Linked DNA regions of Homo sapiens: region 1 is linked to region 2. Evidence: promoter capture Hi-C in human tissues and cell types (Jung and others, 2019). All regions are on one chromosome and are shown on one strand. Each heading gives the region's core, a stretch centred on a gene start or on the middle of the fragment in contact. The rest is flanking DNA. Distances are from core to core; before and after follow the strand shown.

Region 1 (6,567 bases), core at 2,199-4,698, 42 kb before region 2:
GAAGGAGGGGGAAAGGATTTACAAACTGGGACACCATCGTGGCTGTACTGTCAGAGGCAGAGCTGAGCTTGCAGTGTGAGAGGGAAGATATGCCCAGCAACTGTTGCTGCTCTCGGCATAGTCACATCTGGTGATCCAGAAGGGTAGTCACAGAAACCCTTAATTCCACTTCCTAATGTAATTTTTAGATTTATAATTAATTGATGATCTCTTTTATTTTTTCTTATTTCCAGTGATCGTTTCAGTCCCCAGCTTAAAACAAGTCAGTAGCTACCCATTGTTCTCGTATAAAACCCCAAATCCTTCCCATGGCCTGCAAGCCCTGCATTCCTGGTCTGGCCTCACTCTCCCTCTCCCTTTGCTCCAGCCACGCTGGTCTTTTTTCACTTCCTCTGAGGAAGTATTACCTTCAACAACAGGGCATTTGTCACATCCCTGCTGTCTACGGCAATCCCCCTGGCCACCATCACCTGTGTCTTCAATTTCACTCATACTCTGTGGCCCCCCCTTGGTCATTACTTCCTCAGTGGAGCCTTCTCTGACCTCCACAGCTCAGCCCCACCTTCAGGGTCTCTTGAAGGATCTTTCTTTCATGGCTATAGTTTTATGTTATTTGTGTGCCCTTTTATTATGTGACCCACTAGATCCTAAGCTTTTTGGTGCAGGGACTATGGATTTTTAAAATTCTCATATAATTCCTGAACATAGGTGCTCAATAAATATTTATTAAATGAAATGAATGAATAAACTTAACTTAGCTGATTTCCTTAACATTCATAGTCCTTACTCTCAACAGAATATTTTTAGGTAATAAAATAGTTGTACTGACACTTCTGTCTGCTGTTGATGAGAGTCCCCACTGGTCCCCATTTTTGCTTAGAAGTATCAGACACTCAACTATTTCCAGTTTGGTGGGTGTGGAAGAGTATCTCACGTTGGTTATAATTTGCATTTTCCTGATTACTAATGAGTTCCAACATCTTTTTACATGTATATTAAGTATTCTTGTCACCTCTTCATGAAATGTCTCTTTATATCATTTGCTTCAAATATTGCTTGTCTCATTTCCGGAGAATTTTTTTGCATGTTAGACATTTCTCTCCATTCTTCATGTTTCCTAACCTCCCTTACATGTTCCCCATCTCTTTGTCTATCTGGCTGCATTCTAGTTAACTCTTTCAGATCTATCTTCCAGTTCCTTGTCTTATCTGCTGTTTCATTCATTCACTGAGTTTCAAATTTTAATTATTATATATTCTTTTTTATAGAAATCGTCTTTGTTTCTTTGTTAAACCTTCTAGGTTATCTTTTTTGTTGTTGTTGTTCTTGCATTATACTCTTGATACTCTTTTATTTCTTAAAACATATTAAGCCTCTTCATCTTACTTGATAAATTCATTATCTGCTGTCTTTGTGGGCCTCGTTCAGACTTTGTGGGGCCTGGTGTCACTTCCAGATCTTGAAGCCTTGCTTTATTTCTATCTTTTATGATTTTTCACTAGGATCTCATATTGCTTGGATCTTTTTCTGTGGAAATTCTTGGGAGCTGGCTTTAAAGTCATTTCTTCACAAAGGAGCTGCATTTGCAGCTGCAGATCCCCTGGGGTCCTACAACACAGCACCACTTTACACTAAAGTTTACTTGTTCTGTTTTAGCCCAGACAGGTCATGTGACTTCTGAGGATCCAAATCTTCATGAGGATGCACTTGTGATTGAATTCTGAAAGGGAGAGAATTTTTTTTCCCATTCCACCTAAGGCTAAGGCTCTCTGGAGGGTGGAATTTTTCTGGTTGACTCACTGAGGGAATCACCTTTTGGAGGTTCCAGCACCAAGGAAGGTTCCCTGATCCAACCTTCTCCCTCACATGGACGCCTGGTTTTGTCTCCTGAGCCCAAGCAGGCCCACCTGCTGGGTCCTCCAGGACAAATGCCAGCCCCCATGCTTCCTTGCACTGCGGCATTTGTGTTTTCTCACCATTTCTGGACTTCAAAGTTTTCTCTTATTTTTCTGCCTGCTGAGATGTGTTTGCAAAGATGTTTGTAAATATTTTTCCAGAAATTTTTGGTTTTACCCAACAATGAATCCACTATATTGCTAGAATCAAAATGGAATCACTTTCTAAAGTGATCTTTGAAAGAAATACACAATCTTAATCCCTTTCAATTTCTCTCTCTTTCTAAAATTGATTTTATTTGAAGATGTTTTATACATATCCCAAACTAGTATTTATTGAGGTTGTTTTCAGGCTAATGTTACTTACTCAAATGGCACATTTTTTGTTTAAAATAAATTAATACAATTATCTGACTTCAAATTATGCTACAGAGTTGTAGTAAGCAAAACAGCCAGGCACTGGCATAAAAACAGACACATAGACCAATGGAACAGAACTGGGAACCCAGAAACAGATTCACACACCCACAGTGAACTCATATTTGACAAAGGTGCCAAGAACATACATTGGGGAAAGGACAATCTCTTCAATAAATGGTGCTGGGAAAACTGGATACTCATATGCAGAAGAATGAAACTAGACCACTATCTCTTACCATACACAAAAATCAAATCAAAATGGATGAAAGGCTTAAATCTAAGACCTCAAACTATAAAACCATTATAGGAAAACATCAGGGAAACTCTCCAGGACATTGGTCTGGACAAAAATTTATTGAGCAGTACCCCACAAGCACAGGTAACCAAAGCAAAAATCAACAAACGGAATCACATCAAGTTAAAAAGCATCTGCACAGCAAAGAAAACAATCAACAAAGTGAAGAGACAACCCACAGAATGGGAGAAAATATTTGAAAGCTATCCATCTGATAAGCGATTAATAACCAGAATATATAAGGAGCTTAAACAGCACTATAGGAAAAAAATCTAATAATCTGATTAAAAAATGGGCCAAAGATTTGAATAGACATTTCTCAAAAGAAGACATGCAAATGGCAAACAGGCATATAAAAAGGTATCGACATCACTGATCATCAGAGAAATGCAAATCAAAACTACAATGAGGTATCATCTCACCTCAGTTAAAATGCCTTTTATCCCAAAGACAGGCAATAACCAGTGCTGGTAAGGATGTGGAGAAAAGGGAACCTTCATACACTGTTGGTGGGAATGTAAATTAGTACAACCCCTATGAAGAACAGTTTGGAGGTTCCTCAAAAGACTAAAAACAGAACTATCATCAGATCCAGCAATCCCATTGCTGGGTATACACCCAAAAGAAAGGAAATCAGGATACTGAAGAGATATATGCATTCCCATGTTTGTTGCAGCCCTGTTCACAATAGCTAAAATTTGGAAGCAACCTAAGTGTCTATCAACAGATGAATGAATAAAGAAAATATGATACATATACACAACAGAATACTATTCAGCCATAAAAAAGAATGAGATCCTGTCATCCGCAACAACATGGATGGAACTGGAGATCATTATAAGTGAAATAAGGCACAGAAAGACAAACGACAAACATTGCATGTTTTCACTTATTTGTGGGAGCTAAAAATCAAAACAATTGAACTCATGGAGATAGCAGAAGCATGCTTATGAGAGGCTGGGAAGGGTAGTGGGAGGGTGGGGATGGTTAATGGGTACAAAAATATAGTTAGAAAGAATGAATAAGACCTAGTGTTTGACAGCACAACAGGGTGACTACAGTCAATAATAATTTAATTATATATTTAAAAATAACGAGTATCATTGGATTGTTTGTCACACTTGAAGGAGTGGATACCCCATTTTACATGATGTGATTATTGCACATTTGTATGCTTGTATCACAGTATTTCATGTATCCCATAAATATATACACCTACTGTGTACCCACAGAAATTGAAGTGTGTGTGATAGTGACGGTCTCTGAAGGTGGGAAGTGAGACGGTAGGCAGACTTACTTTTTAACTATATGCCTTTTTATGCGTTTTGCATTTTTTACCCTGTGCATGTACTATCTCTTTAAAAATAGTTTTTAGATAATTATAAATAAAAAATTAAGAGAAGGCCTTATGAGAGACATTGTAAAGACTCAAATATAAAGCAGCTCCTTCTTTTCTGAGGGATAACTTTAAAGAGAAACCACATACTTCCTATGAAGACATATACAGTATATACTGGAACCTGTAGAGGGAGGTGCTAGGTGAGATTATACGTGCACCAGCATCAGCTATGATACGTATGCAGAAATATATTGAGTTAGATGACTTTGGTGCAGAAGTTTGCTTATTTGGAGTTAATTTACAACCAACGAAAAAAATAGGGTTTTCCCAGGTTCAGAGAGCAATTCAGGCTCGCAGTTCTGGTTTGGGTTAAGTAAACAGAACTCACCCTTTCTGCTGGCTTTGAGTGATCAAGTTCAATACGTGTACTTTGGATGTTCTTAAAGTACTGTGTCATCAACCTGCTTTGACAACTTTACATTCACTCTACATTTGTAGATCAGGAACTTTGACCTGAATTGAGGTCATGCTAGCCCTAGTTTTCTTTCTGCATATCCAGAAAATTAACCATGATAATGCTCTTAAGATCTGATTTTCTTACTCAAAAATTAAATTAAAATGCTTTCAAATTTTAAGTTTTTCCCCTATATGTCAAGCTTGCAAATAATGATCCAGTAGTATTTCTGAGATGTGCGTGCTTATACACATTCCAGAAATATCCTGCTTTTACAAAACTAATCTCATCTCTTTTCTTTTCTTCCGAAAGGATATGATCTGGATTCAATGTTCTCACTGTTCTAATAATATGCATTTCCATCATACAACATCTTGAAAAATATTCCAATCTTTTATGTTTGATATTTATAACCAACACAAACCCCTGGTTTTCTAAAAACATGGTACAAGAACAGAGATGGGTTGGTTCTCTTCTTTTAGAACACACAATGTCCTATCAAAAACCAACTCCATCTGATCTAAGGAGCAGCAGGTGGAGAAATCACATACTACACAGCGGCTTTAAATGTCAGAGTCTGGCTCTTGCATTCTTTAAGATGAATTGCTTTTAAGTTCTCTGGCACCTTTGCTGGCATGGAAGTTAGTAAAATTTCCAAAAACAAAATCAGATCAGTGGAATTAGGTTAAAAGTTGTTTTATGTGAAAGGATGTAGAATAAGTTAGGGCAGATTAAACAAAGCAGATGATAAAAGAAGACTTTGAGAAAAATCTATAATTTGAAATTGAACTTTGAACTAGACATGTAGATGTAGATCTAATCTGGCCAACTTTGTAACACACTGAAACTCAAGTCAATTGCAATCGTTTTATCTCTATATTTGAATGACTGTCATGTGTGCCTGTCACTAATTTAGACTATCTCCAGTATTCAAAGTACTGTTAGTGTTGTGCAGACAAATTGTCTGCTGCTGATTTCACTTATTAGTGCAACTTGCACAACACCAGAAGAAGCCGGTGCAGCCACCCATGTTTACCTGGCTCTTGTTACCTTGAGGGGGGTGTGAAGACAGCTTCAGTCACCATCCTAGCAACCCTTCCCAATAGACGAACCCTCGCAAGGGAGCTCAGGGTAGCAGAGATCCCCATTCCTCCAAGATAAAAACATGACAACAATTTCCCAGTGTCTAAAGTACAGATTTGACACGAATTATCTCTTTCTTTTATAATTAACTTCTTCCTCAATAATTATTTTTATCAATTATGTCTTTTTTTTTTTATTTTTGAGTCAGAATCTGGCTCTGTGGCCTAGGCTGGACTGCAGTGGTGCAATCTTGGTTCACTGTAAACTCCGCCTCTTGGGTTCAAGCAATTCTCTTGCCTCAGCCTCCTGAGTAGCTGGGATTACAGTAGTGCACCACCACGCCTGGCTAATTTTTGTATTTTTAGTAGAGACAGGGTTTCACCATGGTCTCGAACTCCTGATCTCAAGTGATCCGCCTGCCTCAGCCTCCCAAAGTGCTGAGATTATAGGCATAAGCCACCGCCAGGCCTCATCAATCATCTTGATCAGCCTGGAACCATGACCAAATTTCTCCTAGCCTGAAAAACAATGCCCCTTGACTTTGAGGGTCGCCTGTAGCTCCAGGCTATTTCTTTCATCCTTTACAGCATAGTTCCTGAGAAGCATCTGTCTTTAACTCTTGGCTCTAATTCCTCCTGTGGAGGGGACCTCTCAAACAATAATAGAAATGACAGCACTTTCTGCATGCCTGACACTTTCTATATTAACTCATTTAATGCTCCCATAAACCCATTATGTAAGTACCTTTATTATTCCCATTTTACAGTTCTCGTTTTGTTTATTATTTACCTTGCTTCGGCAAGCTGAGAAAAGCAAAGTCAGAGGTTTTGGTTATAGACCTGTTACAGTACTATTCAGCATAACACAGAAGGACATCCTGTCATTTGCAACAACATGGATGGAACTGAGGTCATTATGTCAAGCAAAAGAAGTAGGGCACAGAAAGACAAATATCACATGTTCTCACCTATTTGTGGAATCTAAAAATCAAAACAATTGAACTCACAAAGATAGAGAGCAGAAGGATGGTTCTGCCAAGTCAGAGGACTTGGTTACAGACCTGGATAAAAAAAGCGTTGGA
Region 2 (6,710 bases), core at 392-2,891:
CATGGTTTCCAAAGATGTCAGGTCATAGAAATGATGACAATTGCAGGTGGGCCATTGTTTCTCCATCACAAGACAGAGGCACTAAGCAAGGTAACTAAAAGTCACTTCAGTGGTCTCATAATGTATTCAGTTGCCTTGGAAACAGGCATCATTATTATTAGCAACCTCAGTGGTTTATGTATTATTCTTTTTTCCTATGTGTGGATTAATTTTGTATTCATGTTTCCATTGTTAATATAACCAATCTCAAATCCTGTTAAAAAAAAAAAAGGCTTAAACGAATCATTGATTTCTCACAATTGTGGAGGCAGGGAAGTTCCAAATCGAGGTGCTTGCCCATTGTAGGTCCTAGTGAGGGCTCTCTTCCTGGCCTGTGGATGGCTGTCTTCCTGCTGTGGCCTCACATGGCAGAGAGAAGCTCTCCAGTGTCTCTTCTTATAAGGACATTAATTGTATGGGACCAGGATTCCACTCTTATGACCTCATTAGCCTTAATTCTTCACTCCAAATAGAGTCACACCAGGGGTTAGGACTTCAGTGTATAAATTTCGGTGGGTGGTGTGGGGGATATAATTCAGTCCTTAATAAATGTTTTTGCCATTTTTACTGTCATTCTGTCACAAGAACACAGTGGAGTTTTCCAGAGACTACATAAGGGTGTGGTAGCAGCAGGGTGAATGCAGAAGCAGGTATGAGTAGTCAGCAATCCTCCACTAGCCAGACCTTAGAGAGACTCGCCAGGATGTAACCTTTATCACCACTCCTCTCGCTACACTTTTGTTCTTGTGGAAAATAGTTATTTCTTAATTAAAAATGTTATGCTAACAATGTAGTCCATTTCTTTTTTAAAAATAATTAAAAATTTTAAATTTCCATTACGGTAAATGTGATATAAATAGCCTACATAAACAAAAGCTGCCTGGGTGCGGTGGCTCATGCCTGTAATCCCAACACTTTGGGAGGCTGGGGCCTCCCAACACTTCAGGATCACTTGAGTCCAGGCGTTTGAGACCAGCCTGGGCAACATAGTGAGACCCCATCTCTACAAAAGCAAAACAAAACAAAACTCCCAAAGTCAGCTGGGCCTGGTGGCGTGCGTCTGTGGTCCTAGTTACTCTGGAGGCTGAGGTGGGAGGATCGCTTTAGCTCAGGAGGTCGAGGCTGCAGCGACCTCTGATGGCGCCACCGCTCTCCAGCCCGGGAGAGAGCTCAACAACAACAACAACAAACAAACAAACAAAAAACCCCGCAGAAGCTCTCTGGGCTCCTCACTTGTTTAATGGAATGAAGGAGTCCCGAGAGCCACACATTTGGGAACCACCGGTCTCGGCCATGCCCAGCGCGGGCGCACTGTTGCAACACCCCTATCCCTGGCTGCGCAGGGTTCAGCTCTCCGCAAGTACCTTCCTCGCCTTCCTACCCCCCCCAGCCCCCAGCCGCCGCCGCTCCCGCAGCCCCGGTCCCGCGCCTCCCCGCAGCCCCGGCGCCCGCCTACCCGCCAGGCAGGCGGTGGTGTCGATCCACTTGAGCAGCTGCCCCGCGCTCAGCTCGCCGCGCGCAGTGGCGTGCGCCGGCTGGATGGCTTGGCTCATGACCACCTCGCCGGGCGCCGGCCGCTCCATGGCCAGGGCGAGAGCGCTACGCCTGCGGCCCCCGACACCCCACCATGCCCGCTCCGCCCGCCCCGCCCTCCCCGCCCAGCTCCAGAGGGCACTGGCGCCGCCCGCCCGGGCCGCGAACCCCTGGCCGCCAGGTGGTGGGAGCTGCGAGTGAGGGGGCCCGCACTGTCATCCCAGGACTATCGCGAGTGGGGGAAAACCAGCGCTCTCGGGTCTCAGGAGAAGTCTGGGAAGTGCGCGGGGAGGGGGCTCCCGGGTAGACAGGTCTGGAAGGCGGCTCCCCGAGAGCCGGAGCGCGAGGAACAGCTTTTGAGATAAAAAAGCTGTTACACTTTCTAGAGCTGCTATCAGTGACTGTACAAAGCAGTCCTCATTAGGGAAACAGTGTCTCCAGAAAACCTCCAGCATCTAATGGATTGGTGGATGTCTGACTGTCAGGGGAGGCTGCTCCAGGGAGCACATTTACGATGGAGAACTGGAAACCCGGAGAAGTGGAGCAAGCAGCTGAGGTGATAGGAGCCGATAAGCGACCCGATCACCTGGCTGGAACCCAGGGCTCCTGACTGTCCGGAATAGCACGAAGAAGCCTAGCCGACTCTCACGAATTGGTGGTGCCTTTTCATCCTTATATTTTTGGCTTGCCAAGCCTCAGCATGGCGACATCAGAATGGAGATTCTGGTATTTTTCTTTCCTTTTTAAAAGATTTTTTTTAAAATGAAAGTGAAGAAATAAGGAAATGTTGACTTGATAGCTTTTAGGAGCCTCTGTGTATAGGTTTCAGGACAATCCAATCATAAATAGGAATTGCATGTTTTCACTGAGGCAAGCATGAAGTCTGACTTATATAAAAGGCATTAAAATAACTTTTAAAAGCAAACAAAAACTTGTGCATCCAAGATGGTCCCATTATGTAGCTATACACTTATTTCAATGATAACGTTATTACATCGCTTTTGGCACTCCTCCTTGGAAAATGCCTTTTTAATGACTTCTGTATTGAGAAATCATAATTTAGGAATTGATAGATTATCATATATTCACTCCATCTACCAATAACTCTGTGAGAGTCATTTATTGACCTTGGACTTGGCCATGTGGCTTGCTTAAGAATGGAATGTGGAGAGATAGCAGTGTACCACCAGTCTTGCCTTTAGAAGCACCGTGTTTCTGTTCTCAGGAACATCTGACCTCTGCCATGAGGTCAAGTAGCTGCCTATTAGCATCTGGGTACCAGACTGAATTCACGTATTGCAGAGGCATCTCAGCCAGCCGGAGGACTCACAGCCTGAAGCAGAGCAACCCAGCAGACATGAAGACTCTTGAGTGAGACATAACTACTTATTGTTGTGTGCCACTGTGATTTTGGGGGTTGTCTGTTATGCAGCAATAGCTGACAGTTACATGAGTGAACTGTATTAATATTTGGGAAGTTTATTAAATTACTGGAAATAAAGTTTGCATTTAGGCTGGGTTGTATTATTTTGGGTAAAAAGTGGTGACTAAAGTGGTGATATTGAATTATGTGTATGGTTGTATACTTGGTTTCTTATAAACTAAAGAAACTTAGGCCAGGCGCAGTGGCTCATGCCTATAATCCCAGCACTTTGGGAGGCTGAGGTTAGGTAAATTGCTTGAGCTCAGGAGTTCAAGACCAGCCTGAGCAACATGGTGAAACCCTCTCTCTACCAAAAATACAAGAATTAGTTGGGCGTGGTGGTGTGTCCCTGTGGTCCCAGCTACTCAGGAGGCTGAGGCAGGAGGATCACTTGAGCCAAAAAGGCAGAGGTTGCAGTGAGCTTGAGTCTCAAAAAAAAAAAAAAAAAAAAAGAAAAAGAAGAAGAAATTTCAAAAATGTTTACGCATAAGTGTAAGAGGATGGGTTTCCAAAATGATTTTCTTGAAGGGGACAGCATGTGTATATTTGTGTGTTTGTCTAGAGATGTTGCTTTAAAAGCAGACATGGTACACAAATTCACTGCTGTGTTTTCTTATCTTTATTATCTCCTGTTTAGATGTCTTCAGATTATGGTTTCATATCTTTTGTTGGTTTCATACTAATTTTCATTTTACTATTCTTGTGTTTTTCTGAATGGTCCCTTTCTTCCTTTTACAATGAAAATGTCATCTGCATGCATGAACATTTGTTACCTCCATTTCTCTCTGGTGTCAAAGATTTTTACTATTATGCTTGAATAAAAGGTCGAGTTTCATTTGTGTTTAGAGACATTTTTGAAGATAAGCAGAATGTGAAGCCAGCTTGATTTTAAAAGTTTGTACACAGGAGCAGGAAAGCTGATCCAAAAAAGTGTGGGAAGTTCCACAATCACTAGAATAACGAGAAAATCTTTAAAATGCTGGAGTGGGAAGGGGAACTGGACAGTCTAAACTCTTATTCTAGAGATGAGGAAATGAAGTGATTTCCTTGGGTCACATTGTAAGGTAGTGGCTGGGTTTTGTGAAAACTAAGAACAAGGAACCTGGAATATAAGTAGAGAGGTAGAAAAAAAAATGCTTTCTCCAGAAACAGAGCCTCTGACAAGAATTTGAGAGCAGACAGTTTATTTGGGAGGAAATTGCAGAAAGCACTGGTAGGGGCATCAAAGTGTAGTCCCCAGGTAAGCAGCCTCAGCCTCACCTAGGATCCTCTTAGAAATGCAGAATCTCAGGCCGGGAGTGTTGGCTCATGCTTATAATCCCAGCACTTTGGGATGCTGAGGCAGGAGGATCACTTCATCCTAGGAGTTTGAGACCAGCCTGAGTAACATAGAGAGACCTTGTCTCTATAAAAAAAAAAAAAAAATTTAAAAATTAGCCAGGAAAGGTAGCATATGCCTGTGGTCCCAGCTACTTTGGGAGGCTGAGGTGGGAGGATTGCTTGAGCCCAGGAGGTCGAGGCTGCAGTGAGCCATGATTGGGCCACTGCACTTCAGTCTGAGTGACACAGTGAGACCCTGTCTCGAAAAGAAAAGAAAAGAAAAAATTATAAATGCAGAATTTCAGGCTCCAACTCAGACCTACTGAATTAGAGTCTAAATTTTATTAAGATTCCTAGGTGATTCAGGGGCACATTACAGTTTGTGAAGAACAGCCCCAGCCATCCCTCCCACTGGCATGAACCCTGGGGTTTTTATCCTCTGACTGGCATCCTTCATTGACTAAGGGCTGGTCCCAGGAGATGAACTCCCCAGGACTTCTGCAGATTTCAGAGCAAGAGCAAGCTTTCAGCTGGAGCTTTATCTCAGTAGGACAGGAAGACGCTGTCAGCTTGGACTAGGACTCAGAATGGTGAGTGCCGTGGCCATGTGGGCAAGGCAGAGAGCCAAAATCCTTACTGTCCTGAACAGCAGAGGCAGCCGGGAGCCTTTCCATTGTGGGAGATATGTCCCAGACAGAGGGTTTGCTAGTTCAAGTACTTCATACAGAGATGAACTTGATTAGCCATCAAACTCTCTCTCTACATTTGGTATGTTTTAAAAGGTGTCAGGTCAGTGTTTCCAAATTCAAATACAAATTTATAAGGATGTGGTTCAAAGTTTAAACTCAGAGCCCCTAAGCAAAAATTCCAGGATGGGTTTTCTCAGCTTTTGGCCGCCAACTTCTTGACTGGAGGGTCTCCTGTCCTTCTCTGCCCCTGAACCCTGCTCTAGGGATGGCAGTGACTTTGGGGAATGGGTTTTCTGCTTGGACTGTCCCTCTTAGCACCTGGAGCCTCAAGATAACCTTGCTCCTGTTTGTCCCTGCACTTCCGGTGGCCCCTTCTTTCTGTCAAGCATTAGGTGTAGAACCTAACAGCCACCACATTTGTGTGGAGTACAGAGCTTTATTTTGTTTGAACAAAAGCCATGTGTATAGAATCTAATTTTTCTGCTTCCCCAGATTTGTTTGGCCCCACTTTCATCCCAGGCCATTGATTACTGCTCAGTGGAGTCCCTTTGCGGTCACCACCACTGCCTGTGAATATGTTGGAGCACATTGTTTTCAAATACTGCATCCCACTTGCTCATGGTATACAATTCTTTCTATATATTGCAGATTTCCATTTACTAATATTTTAATAAGAATTTCTATGTCTGTATTTTTGGGACATGTTGGTCTGCAGTTTTCTTTCTTTAAAACTGTCTTTGTCTGGTTTTGGTGTCAGGGTTCATAAAATGAATCGGGAAATGTTCCCCCACCATGTATTCTGAAAAAGACTGTATATATTTGGTGTTCTTTACACTTTTGGTAGAATTCTCCAGTGAAACTATCTGGGCCCTGAAGATTTTTTTTGGAAGTTTAAAATTTTTTTTTTTTTTTTTTTTTTTTGAGACGGAGTCTCACAGTGGCGCACAGGCTGGGGTGCAATGGCACGATCTCTGTTCCCTGCAACCTCTGCCTCCCAGGTTCAAGCAATTCTCCTGCCTCAGCCTCCTGAGTAGTTGGGATTACAGGTGTCCGCCACCACACCCAGCTAATTTTTTGTATTTTTAGTAGACGGGGTTTCACTATGTTGCCGGGTGGGTCTCGAATGCCTGACCTCATGATCCTCCCGCCTCAGCCTCCCAAAGTGCTGGGATTACAGGTGTGAGCCACCACACCCGGCCATTAATTCGATTTTTGAAACAGTTACAGGGGTACTCAAATTATTTCGTATGGGGTGAGCTGTGGTAGCTTGTTTTTAAAAGAATTACTCCTTTTTATCTCAGAAAAGGTGATTTGCCAAAGACTGAGATTGAGCTAGAGCCTGATCTGGTGCTTTTTCTTCCATCTGGCAGAGCCCTCCCCTCTCTGGCTGGCTCTTAAAGCTGCCCCTTCCTGCCTCCCTGGCTTTCCCCAGATCTCTCCTGCCCACACCATTTCCTGCTTTCTAAGCCAGCTTTCAGCTACTTCCCCTTAGGGGAGTGGTTCTCAAGATTTTCCAGCTCAACCCATACATACTGAATCCGAAATTCCAGGGGTGGGGCCAGTAACTTTTTTTTTTTTGACATGGAGTCTCGCTCTGTTGGCCAGGCTGAAGTGCAATGGCATAGTCTCGGCTCACTGCAACCTCCGCCACCTGGGTTCAAGCGATTCTCCTGCCTCAGCCTCCTGAGTAGCTGGGATTACAGGCA

Evidence for each region. The method cuts DNA at HindIII sites, captures the fragments that hold promoters and counts their contacts. A contact is called where the count stands out against the background at its distance.
Region 1: a contact is called between a fragment that was not itself captured here and the fragment with the promoter of ACOT12 in region 2, in 1 of the 25 tissues and cell types used here (liver).

Annotation. Positions count from the first base shown.
Region 1 is chr5:81,349,035-81,355,601 of GRCh38, forward strand. All of the region lies in intron 5 of ACOT12 (acyl-CoA thioesterase 12), which reads right to left. Among named protein-coding and RNA genes, the nearest start is that of ACOT12, 42 kb to the right of the region's middle. The HindIII fragment of the contact is 6,823 bases long and covers 38-6,567 here.
Region 2 is chr5:81,392,493-81,399,202 of GRCh38, forward strand. It overlaps ACOT12 (acyl-CoA thioesterase 12), which reads right to left and starts at 1,642. Exons shown (of 15, transcript NM_130767.3): 1 at 1,496-1,642. The coding sequence starts at 1,622. The HindIII fragment of the contact is 9,735 bases long and covers 1-5,896 here.